Linked DNA regions of Homo sapiens: regions 2 and 3 are each linked to region 1. The links are contacts of gene promoters, found by promoter capture Hi-C in blood cells and fetal thymus (Javierre and others, 2016). All regions are on one chromosome and are shown on one strand. Each heading gives the region's core, a stretch centred on a gene start or on the middle of the fragment in contact. The rest is flanking DNA. Distances are from core to core; before and after follow the strand shown.

Region 1 (2,823 bases), core at 95-2,594:
AGCCATCAGGATTAATATGTTTAAATTCCAGTTGGACAGCCCACTGTTAGCTGATACCTAATAGAAAATACCTGACTTCTAAGTCCCCCATCATGTCTCCCCTGTTTCAACAGCACTACCCTTATCTCTCAGCCAATCAGGCCATAAAGGGTTAAGATCACTAGTTTCCTTTTGAATATTAACATTTCACAATATTGTGTACATGTGTGCATGCCACTTACAGCACTGAACCCTATTGATCCTTACCTCTATGATCTTCCCTAATCTTCATTGCATCATGTCAATGACTAATCATGAGAGATCAGGCAGTCTGACTTCTAGGTCTGCATTTGGGACCTCTATGCTTTTCTGCCTCCATAATTATTTTGTTTATGCAATAAAATAAAATAATAAAATAGGAAAAGCAGGTTAAAATGCTGGCTCTGCAACACCAGCCTGAAAGGAATTGCGTCCGCCTCTCTGATGGAAAACAGCTTAGCAATTCGAATATATCACCCCAACAACCATCATCAAAAGAGAACCCTGGGACCTGCCATAAAGCAAATGCTTGGTGTGAATCAATGGATGGCTGAGTAAATAGCCAAAAGTGAACTGCAAGCAGCAGGAATGGATTTGAGAAAAATCAACAATTCAGCATGGCCCTCAGATACGGTGTGGGCCTTCCAAGGCCTGCGCGTGCTTGCTGCAGGGAAAGAGAGTAAACCAGAAGCCTAGTTTTGAAGGGGAACAGGTTACCTACTGGCACCAGCCTCTGTTGATTACACACCGCAAGAGCCTGGAGAGGAAGCAGGTGAATCCAGTTTTCTCTGTCTCTAAACACCTCAGTTTACCTAGCTCTATTGTGGGGGTCTTGCAATTTCAAGTTCCTTCTGTGATGATCCAAGAAATAATAGGTCTAGCAAGTGCTTTATGTAAACCAAAAAGTGCCGGCACAAGGTTGAGGAGGCAGCACTGACCAGGTGTGTCCAGGGTAAACTCTCTAGAGGAGCGTTTCATAAATTGAACGTGCATTGGGATCTCCTGGGAATTTTGATGAAATGAACATCCCGCTTCATGGGTCTGGAGTGGGGCCTCAGCGATGCTAACAAGCTTCCAGGTGATGCTGATGCTGCCGGTCCGCGGACCACACTCCGGAGTAGCAAGGGGCCAGAAGGGCCAAATCTGCCTGCGTGGAGGGAAGTCGGGGAGATGGGGAGAATGGAAAGAAGGACGGTAGAAGGGAAGCTGCTAGGAAGGAGAGATCGGTGCGGGGAGGAGGGGGGTTCCAAGAAGAAGGGGGAGGCTGCGGTGCTGGAGCGAGGATGCGCAGACCGAGGCAGGGAGGCGGGGGTGCGGGAGGCTCCGCGGCTGCGCGGGCGCGTGCTGGTGGCCTCGGCGGAGGCTCAGTCCCGGCCCGCGCCCGCGGCGCCCCCGCTGCGGCCCGAGCGGCCTGGCTGCGGGATCTGTGCGCACGGATGGCGCGGCCGCCCCGGCAGCACCCGGGGGTCTGGGCGTCGCTGCTCCTGCTGCTACTGACGGGGCCCGCCGCCTGCGCAGCCAGCCCCGCGGACGACGGTGCGGGCCCGGGGGGCCGGGGACCCCGGGGACGCGCGCGGGGGGACACGGGCGCCGACGAGGCGGTGCCGCGCCACGACTCCTCCTACGGCACCTTCGCGGGGGAGTTCTACGACCTGCGCTACCTGTCGGAGGAGGGTGAGGCTGCGGGAGGGCGAGGGGTTGCGGGAGGGGAGACCGGGGGTGGGGGACCGAGGATCGGGGGAACGAGGAGAGGGGGCGAGGGAGGGGGAGGGGGTCGGAAAAGATGTCCGTGGAGGCAGCTCTTGCAGAGGCGAGGCCAGGATGGGGAGCGCAGTGCCCAGGCCTCCGCCGGCCTGGAGGAAAGGCCCAAAGAGCTGTCAATGCCTGCCGCCCGCTTTACAGATGGGGAGAGTGAGGCTGGGAGAGGGAGGGGTCATCCAAGTTCTGCAAGGCTGTGGATAGGGGTGGGTGCTGAGTCTAAGCTCCCCCAGTTCTTAGATCTGGCTTCCACCTTTGCCGCCTGGGGTTGGGTTATAGGGGAGGAGGCCGCCATCTGGCCAGGGCAGCTAGGGGGAAGCAGAAAAACCCCAACCTAAAGAGAGAGGTTGCCTTATTTCCTCCCTGTCTGTATTGACTTAAATTTGCAGTGACCAGCGCCCACCTCGTAGCATTCTGTTCCTGCTCACTGACCCGTCAGAGCTGGGTCACATCAGCCTCCCCACTCCCATCCCTCCTCTTTTATGACGCCACATATGTTATGGTCCCCTAGTGCGAGCCACCATTGTTGTGGCCTGCTGGGCCCGCAGACTGGGAGTTTGTCAGCCAAGGGCCTCCCTGTAGAGCTGCTTCAACGAGCACAAAAGCCAAGCGGATGGTGGTCAGAAGGAATGGAAACTGGCCTCTTTAAGCAACTTTGGGAAGTAGTGACTTTCCTTTTCTTCTGCTAAGAGGGATATCCAACCATCAAGCTGGGGTTTGAAGTGTTGAGTCCCAGGAGCTCATATCTGTTAGTGGATGTGTCTGTTGTTAGGATTAAGTTCAGCTGTATACAACAAGCAAACATTAATAGCTTCAACAAGATAGAAGTTTCTCTCTTACAGAAAGAAAACTAGAAATAGGTAATCCAGAACTGGTCTGGAGGCTCCTTGGTCACCAGTGTCTCTGGATCCTGCCCTTCTGTTTCTTCACAATTCTTAGCATGTAACTTCATGGTTCAAAATAACTGCTTGAGCTACAGCCATTATGTTCACATTCTAGACAGTGGGAAAAATGAAGCAGGAAGAAGGTCACTGACTACTTTATAAA
Region 2 (2,823 bases), core at 140-2,639, 86 kb after region 1:
TTGGATATTGTAATGTTAATGTACCTAATATGTTTTTGAATATTCTATGTTTTATATGTTAAAAATACTCAAACATGTTTCTAAGTAGAATATCATTTACATTTAAAAATACATTTCAGGATATGACTTTTCTGAAAAAAAAAAAATAGAGGCTCTACATTATTTTCAGAAATTGTAATTTGTGGATACAAATACAGTCTTAATTCTGAAATTATTTTATTTATGCTTGCTTATTCAAACACATAGTAATTGAATGCTTACCACGTGCTAAGCACTTAGATTTTGGAGATACAAAGAGGAGTGATACAAACCTAGCTCTTTCCCCAGGAAGCTGCCTTGATAACTAGTTTTCAATTGGTTTCTGATTGAAAGTTTTCAGTTTCATTGATTTTAGAATTTAACTTCAGAATATGACATCTGACCTTCCATATCTTAGAAACCTGTTATTCCTTTTTTTTAAGTCTCTGCATTGTCTTTGATGCCTTGGTAGCATGCACTGAAAATTAACTCTTCTGTTTGAAGCTGTAATTGTCAAGATTAAAGATTAACTTTTTATCTTTGAGTTCACTTTAGCATTGATCTCTTAGTGACAGTGCCCTTGATGAAAAACAGATAAGGGGGGCACAAGCTTATAAACGTCAAGTGAAAGTAAATGCTGCAGAACTCATGTTGTTTTTTTAACCAACATTCTTTGCTTTTGGATGTTTAATTCACTGGAGAGCATAAATCAGATCTAAATTAAGAATAACTTATTTAGCAATGCTGTTGCTCACCTTGGGGTTGAGCAGTGCATTGTGGTGTTTCAGCAGTTATTAATCTAGTTAAATGTAGTTTTGAAATGTTAGATGGTAGCTTTGCATGAAAGGAATTCTAGCAATCTATCAAGTATATATTCTGAAAACACAAGTTGTTTAAAATGTAGGATTATTTGTGGTTGTGAAAGATGAAGGAAGTTATAGCAAGATAATGTCAGATAGCATTTAGGGAAAGCACAGTTTTAATAACTGATTAAGAAACAGCTACTACATTGATTATATCAATTATAGTCATGTCATAAAGCTTATGTTTTCAGAAGAATAGAAACTTCAAGTAGAATATCAGATTTTAAAAAGCATTTTATTATGTATTATGAAATATTTCAAACATAAAAAGATGTAAAGACTATCTACCAATGACTCCCCCCTTAATAAAACAAATTAACCTGAAGGCTGTTTTGTGCCCCTCCTTGATTGTGCATTCACCTCCCAACCCCTCGCTCCTTGGGCAACTGTTATCTTTGTTATTTGTCATTGCCTTAACATTAGATTTTTTTATTACTGCTTTTGTAATTCTAATGATATCAAATGGAAAAAATATTTTGAATGCAACTCCTCTTTTAATTTGCTCCAATTTTATCTGTATTTTTTAGTCCATGCCTGTATTATAAGTATTATAAATACTATCTGTATATACTTTTGCTAAAGTCGTGTGTATTTGTTAAACTGATGATACAGCTTCATAAGATTTTAGGTCAGCTAATGGATTGTCAATATTTTGTTTAGAATACTTACCAGGTTATAAATTACAATTTGAAACATAGATATCCTATAGTTTGAGAATTTGAACATAGATATGGATTATGTTGAAATCGACTGCCTTTTTCTTAGCTATGACAGTAATAAACTATATAACAACAGCAGTAATGAGTACTGTGAAGTTTTTAAAGTTGCTTAAAGCTTTTATTGCTTTAATTATTATGCCATAATTTGCTTTGCCATGCTGGAGATCCTGTTTTGTCTTTATGACAATTGAGTATATGTATTTTTAAAGTTCTACTTTAAAGATAAGTAATTCTCTTTTTCGTTTTTGTGCAGATGATCATCTGGTTGGAGAAGATGTTAGATAAAATAATTAGCATTTTCATCATATTTTTGTTAGTGATAGGAACTCTTCTTTTAGCCCTACTCCTGACTGCAAAGGTAGAGTACAGTGATTATTATTCTCATTAATAAACCCTTAATTGTTAGAATTGTAGTCTGGATTAAAAGCTAGCAGAAGGGGCATGGAAAATGTTAACTTGATTTAAAAGTATGTACAATAGCTAAAGGATTTATGATTTGTATATTACTAATTTTGCCATGAATTTGCCTAGTATATTTTCTTTTCAGACCTCTTTTACATGCATTTTTATTTTATCGAAACCCTTGGGAGTAAATACAAATGAAAAAAATGAGATAATGAAGAACAAGTGGCGCTTGTTTTTTTTAGTTTAATAGGAGAATTAGGATCTGGTCTTATGAATTCTAATCTAGTTAGTATTCTTCACTAGATCAGAATTTGCTGATTACCACCTTCCATCCTTGTCTCATTGATCCTTCTGCTGATATATACCATAGCACCTTTATTTCTCGCTTTCCAGGTCCTTCCAGCTTACATTTCCTTTCCCCATTTTCATCTCATCAAAGAAAATTATTCTCTAAAGAACACCTAAAATGTTATCTTTATAGTGATATCTCTTACTATTTTTTTTAGGCTTATCAAGTCTGACAAGATTTCCCCCCCACTTTTATGGTACATTTTAATCTTTATTTTATCTGAACCGTATTGAACTCCACAACCCAGATTTTGGTATGTTCTTTTCAAGGAGTTGGTGAAGCTTATGTGAAATCATGGATACAAAATTTTTTTTATTCCTTTAGTTCCCATAGAGACATGTTGGTAACTATAATTGATAATCTAATTAACCAATTTGCTAAAGAACTGCACTATTTCTTCAGTGGCATCTCTGCTTGGAAGTCCTATTCTTAGTCTCAGCTTCAGTACACCCTCAAGCTATCTTATTTG
Region 3 (2,823 bases), core at 133-2,632, 68 kb after region 1:
TCAGTGGTTGCTTCTGAACCCAAGGGTCTTACTCAGTGGTTTTCTCTTAGACCTGAGAAGTTCTAACATAGTATTTCCCAAAAGCTTAAGATAATAAGGGAAAAATATTTAAGTGCCTGTCATGAGCCAAGAACTTTCAAGTGCTTTTAAATGTGCTATCTTTTTAAATCCACAAGCAAACAAAACAGAACTCAAACAAATAAATCTTTGTAAGATAGATGGTATCTTCATTTACAGATGAAGATACTTCTAGAGATTAACTGACTAGCCTGCAGTCACACAGGTGACTAGTGGAGCTAAGATTTAAACTTAGGTCCTTGGCCAGGCATAATGGCTCATGCTATAATTCCAGCATTTTATGAGGCCAAGGCGGGAGGATTGCTTGAGCCCAGGAGTTCAAGACTAACCTTGCCTGGTCAAGATAGTGAGACCCTGTCTCTACAGAAAATAAATAAATACATAAAAATAAAATAAAATAAAAATTAGCTGGGTGTGGTAGTGTGCATCTATAGTCCCAGCTACTGGGAGGGTTGAAGATGGAGGATTGTTTGAGCCCAGGAGGTCAAGGCTGCAGTGAGTAGTAATCATGCCACTGTACTCCAGCCTGGGCTACAGAGGTGAGACCCTGTCTTAAAAGTAATAATAATGATAATAAATAAATAAACATAGGTTCTTGACCCTAAGCCCAGCGTTCTTTCCCCTCCCCAGGCTCTTTGAGTAAGTGTCAGTCATCCTGAAAAAGTATTGAGTACTCATCCTTCTTGCATCAGTTGTAGTTGTCAGCTCCTTCAGTTTTCCATATTGGTCCTGTTGACTTAACACAACTACATGACCTAGCTTCCTTGCCTCCTAGATCCCAGAAACCTTACTTAGTAGAAACCTTATGGCTTAGTCTGTTTTGTCCTGCTGTGACAGAGTAACACAGACTTGGAAACTTACAATGAACAGAAATTTATTGGCTCACAGTTCTGGAGGCTGAGAAGGCCAATGTCAAGGTGCTGGCATCTGGTGAGGATCTTCTTGCTGTATCATCACGTGGTACAAGGGCGAGCAAGAGATGGCTGGGGCTGAACTCACCCTTTTATAATGACATTAATCCTACCCATGAGGGCTGAGCCCTGATGGCCTAATCACCTCTTAAAGGTCCCACCTGTTAATACTGTGGTAACGGCAATTAAATTTAACATAAGTTTTGGAGCACAAACACTCAAACCATAGCACCTGGAATCCACGTTCAGTATGTTCCCTTGGCGTCTGAGGAAAGAGGTACACTAGCATTGTTATCTCCTATAAGTAAGGCTGTGTTAGACTCTTTAAAAATACTCTTAGTTTTTTTTAAGCAGTCTAGTGAGATTGGTGTTATGCTTATTTTACAAATGAAGAAACTTAGGCTCAGAGAGCCATTTTCTCTGAGTATAAGAAATTTCTTCAAAAGTTAGTGAAACAATCATCAGATATATCTATAATAGCCTGGATACCCAGCCTGAGAAGTACCAGCAAGTACAGCTGAGTGCTGTTCCTCCTGGCATTGGTAATTGTTTGTAAATGACTAGAAATGTCTTTGCAGAGATGAATCCTGATAGTTGCCTTACTTGTTTTGGGATAGCATGAGATATGAGTGAACAAGTTTGGTTCAGTCAAGCCCAAATTGGAAAAAGGGAGCAAACCAAATGTTTTACTGCTCCCCTCCCAGTCCCCACTTCTGATACTGCAAGTTAAACAGGCCTAGAGAAAAGTCTACTGGTCCATCTCCAGGCCCTTGTGACGTGATACTAGAAGCCATTGAGAGGGAGTTGTATTTTCCACATTAGTAATGGAAACAGAAGCCTTCTTCAAAGGGAACTTTGCAGGCTGGGGAGGTGTTATTTGGTATGCGGTGCCTGCTTCCAATAAGCATGTTTGGATGTATTTCTGGTAACTGCTGCTATCCCTGTGAAAAAGAATGGAGTGGATCAAGAAGTATCTCCTTATTTAGACTGGATTTAAAGTATATTTACCCATGCTTATTAAAAAAGTTAGTCTGCTCATCGTTGAGTTGTTGTATTAACAGACACTGTCTGACCTGTGGTCTCTTTCTTGTGTGCCGGACTCTGAGTTTCTGCCCCCTGGTGCTAGGCTGCTAATGTCAGTAGCATGCTTGTTTGGATTTGTGTAGATCCCTGTTATTTGGCTTCTGCTTAATGCTGGCCCTGTCTCTGGGTAGATTGATACCTGAAACCTTGGATGTTCTTTCCTTTTTTTTCTTTAGTCCTTGAGTCCCAAGATTATGTTCCCTTGTTTATGTGCCTATTTTTAGCTGTGGCTTTTAAATACAATACCATTCTAATACCACAACTTGGCCAAGATTCTCAGTCCTGGCATTGTTCTGTTCAGTTTATCATCTCCCTGCCTGGACTGTTGTTTTTTGTTTTTTTTTTTGGACTCTGATTCCAGGCCAATTCCTTGTGGTTTTTGAGGTGCTGAAGGGTATCATTGAGACAGAAGTCATTAAAATACAGATCTGTTGGATAAAAGCAGTTTGCCAAATCTTATATTCATAATTTTCAAATACTTTGTTTATTTTCTCTGTGTGCTACTCCTTTCATGCTTTTGTGAAGTCTGAGGTGCTCGAAAAATGTGCTGAGTCATTTGTGTATTAACTAGAAAAATAGTGCAGTTTCCATTGATGTAGCTAAGCTTTACTGCATATTTACTGCATATTTTAGTGCCATTAGCAAGTTGGAGAGTTATTCCTTAAGCCACAGTTTTGAAGATTTAATTGATTGGGTTTAGCTTTTTCTCGAATCTTTCAGTGCCTACTCTACAGATACAAGATATTTTGCT

The links. Contacts are between HindIII fragments. The CHiCAGO score rates a contact against its expected background, and 5 or more counts as called.
Region 2: a contact is called between a fragment that was not itself captured here and the fragment with the promoter of FRRS1L in region 1, in 1 of 17 cell types (erythroblasts). The highest score is 5.5, in erythroblasts.
Region 3: a fragment that was not itself captured here is called in contact with the fragment with the promoter of FRRS1L in region 1 in 1 of 17 cell types (erythroblasts); the score reaches 9.0 in erythroblasts.

What each region holds. Positions count from the first base shown.
Region 1 is chr9:109,165,770-109,168,592 of GRCh38, reverse strand. It overlaps FRRS1L (ferric chelate reductase 1 like), which reads left to right and starts at 1,344. Exons shown (of 5, transcript NM_014334.4): 1 at 1,344-1,692. The coding sequence starts at 1,455. The HindIII fragment of the contact is 4,411 bases long and covers 1,092-2,823 here.
Region 2 is chr9:109,079,974-109,082,796 of GRCh38, reverse strand. It overlaps TMEM245 (transmembrane protein 245), which reads left to right. Exons shown (of 18, transcript NM_032012.4): 8 at 1,854-1,958. Among named protein-coding and RNA genes, the nearest start is that of MIR32, 35 kb to the right of the region's middle. The HindIII fragment of the contact is 656 bases long and covers 1,062-1,717 here.
Region 3 is chr9:109,098,150-109,100,972 of GRCh38, reverse strand. All of the region lies in intron 3 of TMEM245 (transmembrane protein 245), which reads left to right. Among named protein-coding and RNA genes, the nearest start is that of TMEM245, 20 kb to the left of the region's middle. The HindIII fragment of the contact is 2,592 bases long and covers 87-2,678 here.